Linked DNA regions of Homo sapiens: regions 1, 3, 4 and 5 are each linked to region 2. The links are contacts of gene promoters, found by promoter capture Hi-C in blood cells and fetal thymus (Javierre and others, 2016). All regions are on one chromosome and are shown on one strand. The core of a region is centred on a gene start or on the middle of the fragment in contact, and the rest is flanking DNA. Distances in the headings are between cores, read along the strand shown. Region 1 holds the start of RTCA (RNA 3'-terminal phosphate cyclase). Region 2 holds the start of FRRS1 (ferric chelate reductase 1). Region 3 holds the start of DBT (dihydrolipoamide branched chain transacylase E2). Region 4 overlaps SASS6 (SAS-6 centriolar assembly protein). Region 5 overlaps SLC71A1 (solute carrier family 71 member 1).

Region 1 (2,700 bases), core at 29-2,528, 500 kb before region 2:
GGAAATAAATTTCTGTTGTTTAAGCTCCACTCTGTGTGTGGCATTTTGTTATGGCAGCCCTAGCAAACTAATACAACACCTACAGCCTAATGAATTGGATTCCCCTGTTGGTGAACTGGAGGGCTGCAAACTATGACAAAGGCAATTAACATTAACATATCAGTAATTGCCTTTTGGTAATTTCAAAACTGTAGACAAAAGACTGAGACCGCTGATTTATTAAAATGTAATAAATACAGAATACATACAAAGCAATCAGTGTGGCTTCAAACCTGGGTCCTCTTCTAGCAGGTGCATGTACCTGAAGCTCAACTAGTGGCATGCCCAGCTACCCAGACAGAAGAAATAAGGTCAAATGTCAAGGTGTTTCCCTCTCCACAACAGATAATTCTGGTCATAACAGCTCTCTGGAGGTATGAATGAAGGCTGGGATAACACATCTCAGGATTCTTTCCTGTTTTATGATTCTAAAACTGACAGCAGAACCAGAATGCACTGGTTATAAAACAGGGTTTCCTCTGGCGTCACAAGCATTTCTGCCCTATCTATCTTGCCAGCTCATACGTGCTGTTCGGATATTTGGAATGCCCGGTGAGGTGAGAAAACATTTTAAAAGCTAGCTCTTCAGCAAATGACACTATTTAGTCAAACAGAGAAAACTCGAGACCATTTCTAAACTCACCCCTCCAGGCTTTCAAGACTTTACAACCCAGGCCACCGCCCAGGCAGAGTGCCCCGCCCTGGATCGCCCATACCTGCGTCTGGGACCTTCTGGGTTCCACCACTCGGACTCCCGATGCCCCAGCCCGGCAGCCCGACCCCCCGATCCCCCAGCTTCACGGCCCAACTCCCCCTCCAGCCAGATTTACCTCAGGCCTGGCGTGCTCCGGCCGGCTCGGATCTTCTGCACCCGCAAGGGGAGGCCTAGGAGACAGCTCAAGGCCGTAGAGACTCTCAGGATCTGGCCGCCCTGCAAAGGTTGGGGTACAGGGAGAAGAGAAGTAAGCACACCGGTGGTGAGAGCTCCCCTCCTTAGTTAGGCTGCAGCCCCGGCCGCTTCGCTCTGTACTCACCCCTTCCATGATGCTGCCATCGACCTCCACCCGCGGCCCCGCCATGGGGGACACCCTGGGGCCCAGCCCGCAGCGACAAAGCCTCCGCCAGAGCGGGAGAAAGAAGAGACGTTGGCTCCCGCCCAGTAGTTCAGAAACCTTGGTTCATGCCTGGGGCGCAGGAGCCTGACGAGAAAGCGGAAGAAGCGGCGCCTCTCGGGACACTGGAGTCAGCAGAAACGAACCCCCGGGTTCGCCCAGTTCCGCAGTCAGTGCGCATGCGCGTAGCTCGGCTTAAAGGAGCCGCGCTGGGAACACTGCGGTCGGGGCGAGGAAGCTGCCGGGGAAGTGAGATGACGGTCGCGGGGGTGCCCAGGAGCCCTGAAAAACTTGTGCCCTGGGCACGGCAAAATCTGCAGGTTGCAGAAAGTCTCAACTGTAAGATAACTCCTCCAGTTATCCCGCAGGCTTGTGCTTTATCTCTGTTTTGTGGGTAAATATGTGTTTATATCTGTTTTCTCGAGGATCCTGGCATACCCCGAGGTGCCGACTTTTAGAGCTGAAGATGCAAGAAAGATTGGGATCCTGCGATGCACCGAACCTGTCTCTCGAAGTGTGTGCGCCCTGGTACATTGATACTCTTGGCCTTTGGTTCCTTGCGGTGTGCGTGTTTGTGTATGCGGAGTGTGTTATCTTTCTTTCTAGGGTGACACACCATTTATTTGAGAGGCGGGAAAGGCAGAATCACTAGTTTAATATTCTGAAAAGCCAAAGTTATGCCATTTTGCTTGAGAGTGAGTGCAAGCTCTTGACTCCCAGGAACAGTGCAGCTAACAATTCACCTCAGGCGAGGGCAGAAGCAATAGCCAGCTTCTTGGTTCTGCCTGTGGCTCAGTTCCTACATAATTGAGTACCAAATAATATGTAAACCTCTAGGGAAGCAAAAAAGAGTAATTCAGCTTCTACCCCCGAAGTTATTGGAGGTATAATGGAGAGACTGAGACGTAATCAATTACAATGTCATCCTCAATAATAATTAACATGTACTGTATTTAGAGTTTATTATGGGGACAATTACAATATATTAATAATATACTGTAACAATAACAGGCAACACTTATTGAGCACTTAGGTGTTGTGCACTGCATGCATTCATAACATGATAAAGTACTTACTGTTTTTACTGTTTTACAGCTTCCTGTGTTAAACAATTTGCTACAAGGTCACACAATTTTAACTAGAAGACTGAGATGTGAACCTGGGTGGTCTGATGTGAACACCACTGTCTGGTAATCCCAACGCTCTGCTGCTTTGCGACAGAGAATGTTTTAGGGAACACACAGACTATGTACTTAACCAAATCTGGAATTTGCCGTAAGATATTAATCAGAGAAGTAATGATACTTGCATTTTAAAATGAAGGCTTTGGCAGTAGGAGAAGGGTGAATAAGAGGCTTAAGAGCCTGAAGGGAGAAATGCCAATGATACAATTATCCAGCAAGAAATAATCAGAAGTTGAAGTAAGGCAATGATGGTAGGGATGGAATATAAAAAAGCTGTACCCCTATCTGACATCTTTATTGGGGGAACCCGCCCCCAATATTTCAACGTAGGTTCTTTCTATTTTCCATAAGTGTTGGCCAGCTGA
Region 2 (2,700 bases), core at 162-2,661:
AAGATTAGAAATTATGGTTTAGGGGTCATGCAGCCTCTGGCTCCAAGAGTCTGAACCTCCCCAAATTGCTCCTGGGGATAACATCACTATTGTAAAACCTAAGATCAGTGCTTGAGATATTTTGCAGAGCCTGGACTCGGTGGATCAGCTGATGCCACACAGACCGGTAATTGGGCTCACCCAGTTCTGCCATCCCACCCAGGAACAGAAGACAGCAAGAAAACCTCACGTCGACCCCCCATGATTCCATCTCCAATCTGACCAATTAGCACTCCCACTTCCCAAGCCCCTACCCGCCAAATTATCTTTAAAAATTCTGATCTCCGAATCCTGGGGAGACTGTGTTGAGTAATAATAGAACTCCGGGCTGGGCGCGGTGGCTTATGCCTGTAATCTCAGCACTTTGGGAGGCTGAGGCAGGTGGAATCACTTGAGGTCAGGAGTTCCAAACTAGCCTGGCCAACATGGTGAAACCCTGTCTCTGCTAAAATACAAAAATTAGCCGGGCGTGGTGGCGGGCGCCTGTAGTCCCAGCTACTGGGGAGGCTGAGGCAGGAGAATCGCTTGAACCTAGGACGGGGAGGCTGCAGTGAGCCGAGATCATGCCACCGCACTCCAGCCTGGGCCACAGACAGAGACTCCGTCTCAAAACAAAACAAAACAAAACAAACAAACAAACAAAACAAAAAACTCCGGTCTCCTGCACAGCCAGCTCTGCGTGAATTACTCTTTCTCCATTGCGATTCCCCTGTCTTGATAAATCGGCTCTGTCTAGACAGCGGGCAAGGTGAACCCACTGGGCAATTACAATGTCACTCAAGGTCTGAAATGGAATGTTTAATATTTTCAATTACATTAAAGAGAAGAAAAAAAGTAAAAAACAGGAAAACAAAAAACAAAATAAAAACAAAGATTGTTAAAAATTCAATTACATTGTCTTTTCCTAGCCCTAAAATTTTTCTTTTGCAAAAGAGTCTTGTGAAACAGATTAAAGGCTTAAAAAGAAACAAAACTCCTAAATTTCAGGGGTAATTTGCAAAATAAAAGATTTCTTTTGCATTATATCATTCACACTGCAGAAAGGTTTCGGTTCTATGCAATCTGATCTTTTTCCACTTTTTAAAAGTTAATTTGCTTTTACTTAGCACTATTATAGAACAGGTATTTTCAAATAGTTTTGCAATTAAACACAAAAACTATAATTTTTGTGGCGAAGTAGGTACTAGTTGGCAAACACTGTTCCTTAGTGTAAAACAGAATTCTAAGTTTTCAGAAATGGAGTCCTAAAACTAGCACTGGTCTTGCAAATCAAGTTCTGCAGCTTAGTTTGGGAAAGGTTCCCTTTTGGCTCAAGGCTTAACTGGCTCCACCCAGCTGCTGAAATGTGATACAAGTTGTAACAAAACCGGAAGTTGGTTAGGCTGCCTTCGCTTCTCAAGGTAAGTGTCACGTCTTTTTCCTTAATGTCAAAGCTCTTTGTAAAGCGTTAAAAATCAAATCCAGCTTAGCGACAGACTGGAGAGCGAGTGCCTGTGCTGACCAGGGCAGTCGGCCAGGCAGAACGGGTGCTGTATTCCGAAACTATGTTCTGGAGCTTGAATTGAGCTAATGAGTGTTCACTAACGAGTTAGGTTAATATGTCCTGTGACTTTGACTAACAAGCTTTAATTCCAAGATATGGGTGGTTATAAGTAGAGACGTGTTTGGGATCCTGAAAATCATTGACTTTATTCTTGCAGGAGTTTTTTTTTTGTTTTTAATTTTAAATTTAAAACTGTAGGAACTCTTTTTTTATATTTAAAGCTAGTGGCATGGTTACCTATATCAGGGTCACTTAGAACCTTATTTGGTTTTTAAAGTGGCTTTTTATCTAGAACTTTTAGTCCCCTTACCCTCCCACTCCCTAGCCCTGGTGTGTCGTTAAAATTTCAGAAAGACTCCAGGGTGGCAAGGTGTTATCACTGCACTTATTTTTGTGTGTGCTTGTCATACTGCCCTAAAGGGTAAAGGGGATTTTTCAAATTGTAAATGTGTTATTAGGAATATTTCTTAACATAGCTAAACTTTTCAGTTCAGATATTTTCATTTGCTTCTGTATTTTTATTTTTTATTTTTATTTATTTATTTATTCATTTATTTTTGAGACGGAGTCTCGCTCTGTCCGCCAGGCTGGAGTGCAGTGGCGCGATCTCGGCTCACTGCAAGCTCCGCCTCCCGGGTTCAAGCGATTCTTCTGCTTCAGCCTCCTGAGTATACTGCTGGGATTACAGGCGCCCGCCACCACGCCCGGCTAATTTTTTGTATTTTTAGTAGAGACGGGGTTTCACTGTGTTGGCAAGGATGGTCTCTATCTCCTGACCTCGTGATATGCCCGCCTCCGCCTCCCAAAGTGCTGGGATTACAGGCTTGAGCCACCGCGTCTGGCCTATTTATTTATTATTTTCGAGACGGAGTGTTGCTCTTGTGGCCCAGGCTGGAGTGCAACGGCGGGATTTCGGCTCACTGCAACCTCTGCCTCCCGGGTTCAAGCAATTCTCCTGCCTCAGCCTCCTGAGTAGCTGGGATTACAGGCAGGCACCACCACACCCGGCTAATTTTGTATTTTTAGTAGAAACGGGGTTTCTCCATGTTGGTCAGTCTGGTTTCGAACTCCCAGCGTCAGGTCATCTGCCTGCCTCGGCCTCCCAAAGTGCTGGGATT
Region 3 (2,700 bases), core at 42-2,541, 480 kb before region 2:
GCTCATGCCTGTAATCCTAGGACTTTGGGAGGCTGAAATGGGAAGATCGCAGTTTGAGACCAGGACTTTGAGACCAGCCTGGGCAACATAGAGAGATCCCATCTTGAACTTCTGAGCTCAAGCCATTTGCCTGCCTCAGCCTCCCAAAGTGCTGGAATTATGGGCAGGAGCCACCACGCCTGGCCCAAGAGACCCTATCTCTACCAAACAAACAAACAAACAAAAAAGATAATAAGATTTATTGTTTGCATTGATTTTTTGTGTGTAGATGTGTAATACATAAAATGGCAAATGAGGGGGAAAAGTGTTTGGGTCATATTAAACAATGAAGTTGTGAAATACCTGAGATTTTGTTTCATAACCACTAATCTTCAATGTTGAGCATTTAAAATGTATTTGTTCCAGTTTTTTTTCTCTGTAATTCCTTAGACATCTGTGCAGATTTTCATTCCCACGTAAGAAGCAATAACAGACTAATGTCATCCTGGACATTTCCAGGAATTGGTTTCCTAGTTGCTCTGAGGAAGATTGCCTTTTAAAAGAAAGCTCTGATCTGTTCTTTACCAGTTCCACTTGACCTGAATTTGACATTTCTTTAAGAGACAACTAAATCAAGATCATGTGTCTGTGACATGTATTGCATATGCTAGTTAGCTGCATCTGATAGCAGTCTGTAAAAAGAAAGATGATAACATGTTTATTTTAGACATTAGGTAATGTTCATCTTTCATGAAAAAAATTGATTAGCCAATTTTGGTAATCAAAAACATAAATGGGAGTAAAAAAGGCAGTCATTGGGAAGTACTGCTGTATGGACTTGTGAAACAACTAGTTGTCCAGAGCCTTGCTACAACGTATAGAAATATTCTATTTTCTGTATTTGGGGCGGCTACACTACAAGATGAAGACGGGGAAATGTTTTCCAACTCATCGCTCAGGTCCTACTGCAACATAACTTTCTTGAGGTAAGTACCTTTCTTTGTGTTTCCTTAACACTCTCTATTTTCCCCATCACATACACTAAAAAGATTATCTTTGGTGCATCTGTATTTACACAGCAGTGTTAAATTTGGGCTGCCCTCTGCCCCGCCTCCGTCCCCCAGGCTCTTTTCACTCCCCGCTGGGTCCCAGATCCTAGGGTTTAGCTCAGGCTCCGCCCTACTCCTTGGTTGGCTGTTGGGTGGGAGGCTCGTTTCTTCCCTCCCTATTGGTCGCCCAGGGGGAGGCGCGTTTCCCATCTCCTGATAGGCCGCGCCGAGGAGAGTCTCTCCAGTTTGCGGCACTGTTGTCATTTCCGGGGTAAGATGGCTGCAGTCCGTATGCTGAGAACCTGGAGCAGGAATGCGGGGAAGCTGGTAAGCACGTTTGGGCAGATCTGAGGCCGGGAAGGAGTGATTTGTCCGGAGTCATCCAGGAGTGGTGTTTTACTTTCTCCTCCGGTGCCAGGCGTCCAGGGCACGCGTGATGGAGAGGTGAAGGGATGCATGCAAAATAAAGGGCAGAGAACGGAGCGAGTCGACCAGTCTGGAGTGGAAACCCACTCCCTCCCCTTACCTGGAAGCGCTTCTGCAGCGACTCAGCCGTCCTGCTCCATCTGTACCCCGAGGCCCAGCTAGCGTTTTATTGAGCGCCTTCCAGGTGCCCAGGCATTGTGATAGGCGCTGTGGATCCAGAGATATATTCGTTTAGCATTTATTGCGTACCCACAGTATGCCAAACACTGGTAACACGACCCCTACCCTCAAGGAATCTACAGTGTGTAGAGGAAGAGGCCGTTCAAGTTATAGAATATCAGCAGGGGTCCCTGCTTCCGAAGAACTGAGCAGCTCGGCGTCACTCTTTTGCCTTGTACTTCTATGTCCGCACCACATATCATTCCTACCCTTTTGTCACCAAGGCTGTGACCCATCACCATCTCCCCTGCACTTCCTTCTCTTTCTCCCAGTCTTAGCACCAAGCACTGACACATACCGGTAATGATACTTGTTACCCCTATTTGCTTAGTGTTTCTTCTTCCTGCCTCTTCTCCCTTTCCCTAGATGCTCCTGCCTTGGTGACCCCGATCTTACAAAAACTTTCAAGAGCCTGCTATGTACCAGTGCTGTGTTAGGCACTGGAGATACAAATATGAAATAGACATCATATCTTCCTTCTCAAGAGATTACAACCTTGTGGTGGAGGACAAAGGAGAGGGAGACAGATAGAAATTACAACCCAGCATGAGAGGTACTGTGATGGGACAAGTGCCTAGAACTACAGGAACACACAGGAGTGGACACCTATGGTGGACTTGGGGGTCAGAGGAGTTCCCAGAGGATACTGTATGACTTGAGATGTAAGAAGGATAAGTAAGAGATAACCAGGAGAAGAGAGCTCTTCTCAGCAACACTTAACACATATTGGTCTCTCTTCTTTCTAGAGCTTTCCATTCTTGTTTTCTGTGACACCAGTTTCCCAATATTATTCTTTCTTCATCTTTGGCCACTTCATCCCAATATCCTGTTTCCCTTCCCGCCTTTTAAATATTGCTTTTTCTAAAGGGCTCTGACTTTGGCCCTCTGCACTTTTCCCACTTTCTGGGTTATCCCATCCACTCTTTGGCTTTAGTTACCATCTATGCTGATGAGTCCTAAAGTTCCCCAGTCTTCCAACCAGGTCTACTCCAAACCCATATATCCTACTGTCCTGGAAATCTCCAGT
Region 4 (2,700 bases), core at 41-2,540, 360 kb before region 2:
TAAGTTCTTCTTTTGTAAAATAAATAATATTTACTTATCAAGATTATTGTTAAATAAGATGATATATGTAGAATACCTGGCAGGTACTCAGTAGTGTTGGTAACCCTTCCCTCCCCTCTCATGGAGCCCTAAAATGCAATCAGAAGCAAATCTAGCAAAAAGTCATTAATCTCATCTCAATTTGAGGACAGAGACCATGGTTTTTTTTGTTTTGTTTTGTTTGTGTCATCCTATGTTCAAAAATTATTATTTTTTTTTTTTTAGAGAGAGGCTGTCACTCTGTTGCCCAGGCTAGAGTGTTGTGTCATAATCATGGCTTACTGTAATCTCAAACTCTTGGTCTTAAGCTCTCCTGCTTCAGCTTCCAGAGTACATGAAACTACAGGCATGCACCACCATGCCTGGCTCATTTTATAAATTTTTTGTAGAGATAGGATTTTGCTATGTTGCCCATGCTGGTCTTGAACTCTTGGCCTCAGGTGATCCACCCACCTCAGCCTCCCAAAGTGCTGGGATTACAGATGTGAGCCACTGTGCCAAGCCCCTGGACCATGTTTATTTCTGTTTGTATCCCTAGCACCTGGCACAATACCTGGCTTAAAGTACCTTTTATTTGTTTGATTGATAGTTTAAGAGCACAGCTACTGGGTGTCAGAGATGGCCTAGAATCCAGTTGTGCTAAAGCAAGCCTGATGTTTAGAATACTTTTTATTTAGAAGAACTCATAACTAAATCTAATGTCATTAGTATTAGACATCTATTGAGTACGACATCTATTGAGATGAGAAATAACATTTTATTGAGTTTTTATTGTTTTATATTGCTCTTATGACATTAACCATTATAAGGGAAAAAATAAGATTTGTGATTTTAGTTAGCGTATCCTCTGAAAGCTTGTATTTTTCTACAGCATATTTCTAGGGATGTTTTTTAACTAAGCATGGGGAATTCGTTTAACTTACAGGCCTTCCGTTTTTTCTTTCAACATCTAATGTATATAGGCATTTGGAATATATGCAACAATATCATTAATATGATTGGTAAATTGTCATAGTAATATAACTCTTCCAGGATTATGTAAAGAACACTTTGATAAGTGAATTCTTCTTGTACTTTTTGCAAATATATGAAGTATGACAGGACTTTTAAAACCGTAAAACACCGTCTAGGTGCAGTGGCCCACGCCTGTACTGCTATCACTTTGGGAGGCTGAGGTGGGCAGATCACTTGAGGTCAGGAGTTTGAGACCAGTCTGGCCAACATGGTGAAACCCCATCTCTACTAAAAATACGAAAATTAGCCAGGTGTGGTGTTGTGCCCCTGTAAACTCAGCTACTCAGGAGACTGAGGCAGGAGAATCGTTTGAACCTGGGAGGCGGAGGTTGCAGTGAGCCAAGATCGCACCATTGCACTCCAGACTGGGTGACAGAGCGAAACTCTGTCTCAAAAATAAATAAATAAATAAATAATTAAAATAAAAATAAACTGTAAAGCACCATAAAAAGTTAAATACCAACTGCAGTATCATACCACTATGGCATTTATACTAGAGAAAACTTCAGAAGATGAAAACCAAACATAATGATGTAGAGCTAAAAAGGTTTTCACAAACCTTCTAGTTGAATCCACTTATCTTACAAGTTCGGAAACTGAGTCCCCCCCTCCCCCACCCCACCACGAAAGCTTAATCTTGCTGTGTTGCCCAGACTGGACTTGAACCCCTGGGCTCAAGCTATCCTCCTGCCTCAGCCTCTGAAGTAGCCAGCACTACAGGTGGGAGGCACTGTGCCCAGCTCAGGAAAGCTTAAATGGAATTGGAGTAACACTCTAATCTGTTTCACATATGTTGCTTTAGATACTAGAAAAATAGCAACAGTGTATTCTCTTGTTTTGAAAATAATTCTTCCTCTCTCTGGTGTAAACCAGTGCTTCTTGTTCCTTTTCAGAAAACAGATACAAGTTATGAGGTAACATTTAACCTTATTGTACAAACGGAGATTTAGCATCCAATCATATGTTCAACAAGAAACTTAACTAAAATGACACATTTTAAACCCATATAAAATTACAAGTCAGCATTAAAAAATCTAAACAATTGAATCTAGCCTTGATCAACTGTTTCCAAGTTTTCCTATCAGTACTCAATTGCTGTTTATACTTTTTACTTGTGTAGTAGATAAGCAATAGTGTGGAAAAGGTTTAAAAGAAGTCCTTAGAAGAAAAACTTAAAATTGAACAAATTCTATTTGTTAGTTTACTTTTTTCTACCTGCACATCAAAGAAAGGCCATTGTTATTTAATTCTGGCAGAATAGTTTGAGAAGTACTTGTGCATAGGTATTTTTTACTAATTTCTCCCTTTATTTTCTGAATTATATAAGCATTTGTGCTCTATTTGATTAATGTTTATGAGCACTTTCACCTATATACCTCTGTCCAATTCTGGATTCTCTAAGATACAGCATAGGATGTGGAACACTGTGGTCTCTCCCTCTCAGGGCTTAAAGTTACTTTACTCAAGGATAAAATAGGTGTAATAAACTTGTTGATAATACTTCTGTGGTTTTATTACATAAAGAATATATTAAGCAGATTTAATTCGTGGATGTGAAAATACGTTTTTGTATGAATAAATGTAGGGAATATGTTATTTCCTTGATTTTAAACATTCAAAGCATTCTAATATCGCTTCACATATTAA
Region 5 (2,700 bases), core at 102-2,601, 300 kb before region 2:
TGGGGCTACAGGCACACACCACCACGCCCAGCTAATTTTGTTTATTTTTTATAGAGGTGGAAGTCACGCTATGTTGCCTAGGCTAGTCTCGAACTCCTGAGCTCAAGCGATCCTCCCACCTCAGCCTCCCGAAGGGCTGGGAGTACAGGTATGAGACACCAAGCCTGGCCCCACTTTTCTTATACTCTCTCCTTTGGCAGGAAAAGTAAAGAATTAGATTCTTGCCTTAAAAACAGCCTGGACAACATGGAGAAACCCTGTCTGTATCAAAAAAGAAAAAAGAAAAATTAGCTGGGCATGCTGGTGTGCACCTGTAGTCTCAGCTACTTCAGAGGCTGAGGTGGCAGAATTCCTTTGAGCCAGAAAGGCGGAGGTTGCAGTGAGCCATGACAGCACCACTGCACTCCAGCCAGGGTGACAGAGTGAGACCGCATCTCAAAAATAAAATAAAATAAATGATAGCCTCTCAGGACACTGTCTTCAAACTTTCTAAGCCTTGGAGCCCTCTGTTCCAATAAATCCTACTGGCAAATTCATAGGTAAAAGAGATTTTTTTAAGAAGACTGGGTGTGATGGTTCATGCCTGTAATCTCAGCACTTGGGGAGGCCAAGGTGGGAGGACTGCGTGAAGCCAGAAGTTTGTGACCAGCCTGGGCAACACAGCAAGACCCTGCCTCTATTTAAATTTTTTTTTTTTTTTTTTTTTTTTTGAGACGGAGTCTCGCTCTGTCGCCCAGGCTGGAGTGCAGTGGCGCGATCTCGGCTCACTGCAGGCTCCGCCCCCGGGGTTTACGCCATTCTCCTGCCTCAGCCTCCCGAATAGCTGGGACTACAGGCGCCCGCCACCTCGCCCGGCTAATTTTTTGTATTTTTAGTAGAGATGGGGTTTCACCGTGTTAGCCAAGATGGTCTCGATCTCCTGACCTCGTGATCCGCCCGCCTCGGCCTCCCAAAGTGCTGGGATTACAGGCGTGAGCCACCATGCCCGGCCTATTTAAATTTTTTAACTCTTTTAGTTGAGGAAGGGTTGAGAGCCTGGGCACTGTACAAACACCCCTCCTTGACTGCCAGTCATGCTGGTCCTTAGGGGAGGGGTGTCTAATCTTTTGGCTTCCCTGGGCCACGCTGGAAGAACGGTCTTGGGCCACACATAAAATACACTAACAATAGCTGATGAGCTTAAAGAAAAAAAAACTGCATAATGTTTTAAGAAACTTTATGAATTTCTGTTGGGCCATGTGTGCAGCCTGTGGACCATGGGTTGGACAAGCTTGGTTAAGGGCATCTCCATAAACCCTTAAGTGCTCTCTGTGAAAGGAGTCTAAAATCCACTGCTCTAAGGAAATCCAATTTCACTGTGACTTTTCCAATATTAAAATTAAATGAACGTTTATCTTGATACATACTGAAGGGCTAGCTGAAATAAAGCTTAAAGACTTGGAGGTTCCTGTTCTCATGAATAATATGTTAAGCCCTGGAACAAAACTGAGCTTGGTAATCTTTTTAGTTGGCAGGGTTAGGAAGAATGAAATCACAGATAAATTAAGAACATCTCTAAAACTCTGAGGAAGTCTATTTTTTTAAGCCTGGTGAAGATGAAGATTAAAGTTGAAAAGGACACGAGTAGAGCAAACCTGTTAACCGCAGACATTTCTAGCCTACTGGACAACAGCCTACAAATTAGCAGATGTGACAGCAGGAAACACTTCATAAAAATAGCACTCTTAGTCAGGTGAGGTGGCACCTGCCTATAGTCCCAGCTACTCAGGAGGCTGAGGTGGGAGATCACTTGATCCCAAGAGTGAGTCCAGTCTGGGCAACACCCTGTCTGGAAAGGAAAGAGGAAAGGAAAGCAAAGGGAAAAGGAATGGAGAAAGGGGAAAGAAGAGGAGAGGAGAGAAGAGAAGAGGAAAGGAAAGGAGAGGAGGAGAAAGGAAAAGGGGAAAGGGGAAGAGAAAAGGGGAAGGAAAGGGTTAAAAAAGGGAAAAGGCTTAGGGAAAAGGCTTAAGGAAAAGGGGAAAGGGGAAGGGAAAGGAAAAGGAAAGAAAAAGAAAAAAGAAGGGAAAGGGAAAAGGGGAGGGGAAAGGAAAGGGAAAAGGGGAAGGGAAGGGAAGGGAAGGGAAAAGAGAAAAGGAAAGGAAAGGAGAAAGGTGAAAGCGAAAAGGAAAGGGGAAAGTGAAAGTGAAAAGTGGAAAGGGGAGGGGAGGGGAGGGGGAAGAGAAGGGCAAAGGAAAGGAAAGGGGAAGGGAAGGAAAGGAAAAGGACCATATTCTTTCAAAGCATAGAGATTAATGTTGGAATTTTATTCTGTTTCTATGCCATTTTTGACTTTTGGATGGAGAACTTAAACTTCACAAGAATGCTTACTTGCAACTCTATTGCTTAAGGCAAGCAATTCAATTTTCAAAGGTCAATTATTTGAACAAGTACATAAAATTCTAGTAATTTCAAACATCTAGCTATCAATCAAATGTCCATCAACTGATGGATAAGAATACACTACACAGCAATCAAAAAAAACTACTGGCCAGGTGCAGTGTCTCATGCCTGTAATTCCAGCACTTTGGGAGGCTGAGACAGGCAGATCACTTGAGTTTAAGAGTTTGAGACCATCCTGGGCAACATGGTGAAACTCCATCACTACAAAACATACAAAAATTAGTAGTCCCAGCTACTCGGGAGGCTGAGGTGGAAGGATCA

What was found. The method cuts DNA at HindIII sites, captures the fragments that hold promoters and counts their contacts. A CHiCAGO score of 5 or more calls a contact.
Region 1: a contact is called between the fragment with the promoter of RTCA here and the fragment with the promoter of FRRS1 in region 2, in 2 of 17 cell types (M0 macrophages and M2 macrophages). The highest score is 6.4, in M0 macrophages.
Region 3: a contact is called between the fragment with the promoter of DBT here and the fragment with the promoter of FRRS1 in region 2, in 16 of 17 cell types (erythroblasts, monocytes, M0 macrophages and 13 more). The highest score is 31.7, in erythroblasts.
Region 4: a contact is called between a fragment that was not itself captured here and the fragment with the promoter of FRRS1 in region 2, in 1 of 17 cell types (erythroblasts). The highest score is 5.1, in erythroblasts.
Region 5: a fragment that was not itself captured here is called in contact with the fragment with the promoter of FRRS1 in region 2 in 1 of 17 cell types (megakaryocytes); the score reaches 5.3 in megakaryocytes.

What each region holds. Positions count from the first base shown.
Region 1 is chr1:100,264,794-100,267,493 of GRCh38, reverse strand. It overlaps RTCA (RNA 3'-terminal phosphate cyclase), which reads right to left and starts at 1,278. Exons shown (of 11, transcript NM_003729.4): 1 at 1,074-1,278; 2 at 870-970. The coding sequence starts at 1,118. It overlaps RTCA-AS1 (RTCA antisense RNA 1), which reads left to right and starts at 1,320. Exons shown (of 3, transcript NR_110435.1): 1 at 1,320-1,490; 2 at 1,577-1,665; 3 at 2,247-2,700. RefSeq lists enhancers at 1,110-1,469, 1,038-1,587. The HindIII fragment of the contact is 11,806 bases long and covers 1-2,700 here.
Region 2 is chr1:99,765,346-99,768,045 of GRCh38, reverse strand. It overlaps FRRS1 (ferric chelate reductase 1), which reads left to right and starts at 1,411. Exons shown (of 17, transcript NM_001361041.2): 1 at 1,411-1,439. The HindIII fragment of the contact is 6,315 bases long and covers 1-1,664 here.
Region 3 is chr1:100,248,425-100,251,124 of GRCh38, reverse strand. DBT (dihydrolipoamide branched chain transacylase E2) reads left to right here and starts at 1,291. Exons shown (of 11, transcript NM_001918.5): 1 at 1,291-1,355. The coding sequence starts at 1,305. RefSeq lists a silencer at 1,072-1,171 and enhancers at 1,282-1,401, 1,003-1,562, 1,563-2,122. The HindIII fragment of the contact is 8,889 bases long and covers 1-2,700 here.
Region 4 is chr1:100,126,800-100,129,499 of GRCh38, reverse strand. All of the region lies in intron 1 of SASS6 (SAS-6 centriolar assembly protein), which reads left to right. Among named protein-coding and RNA genes, the nearest start is that of SASS6, 4.8 kb to the left of the region's middle. The HindIII fragment of the contact is 790 bases long and covers 896-1,685 here.
Region 5 is chr1:100,064,999-100,067,698 of GRCh38, reverse strand. The region is part of intron 5 of SLC71A1 (solute carrier family 71 member 1); the gene reads right to left. Among named protein-coding and RNA genes, the nearest start is that of SLC71A1, 28 kb to the right of the region's middle. The HindIII fragment of the contact is 158 bases long and covers 1,273-1,430 here.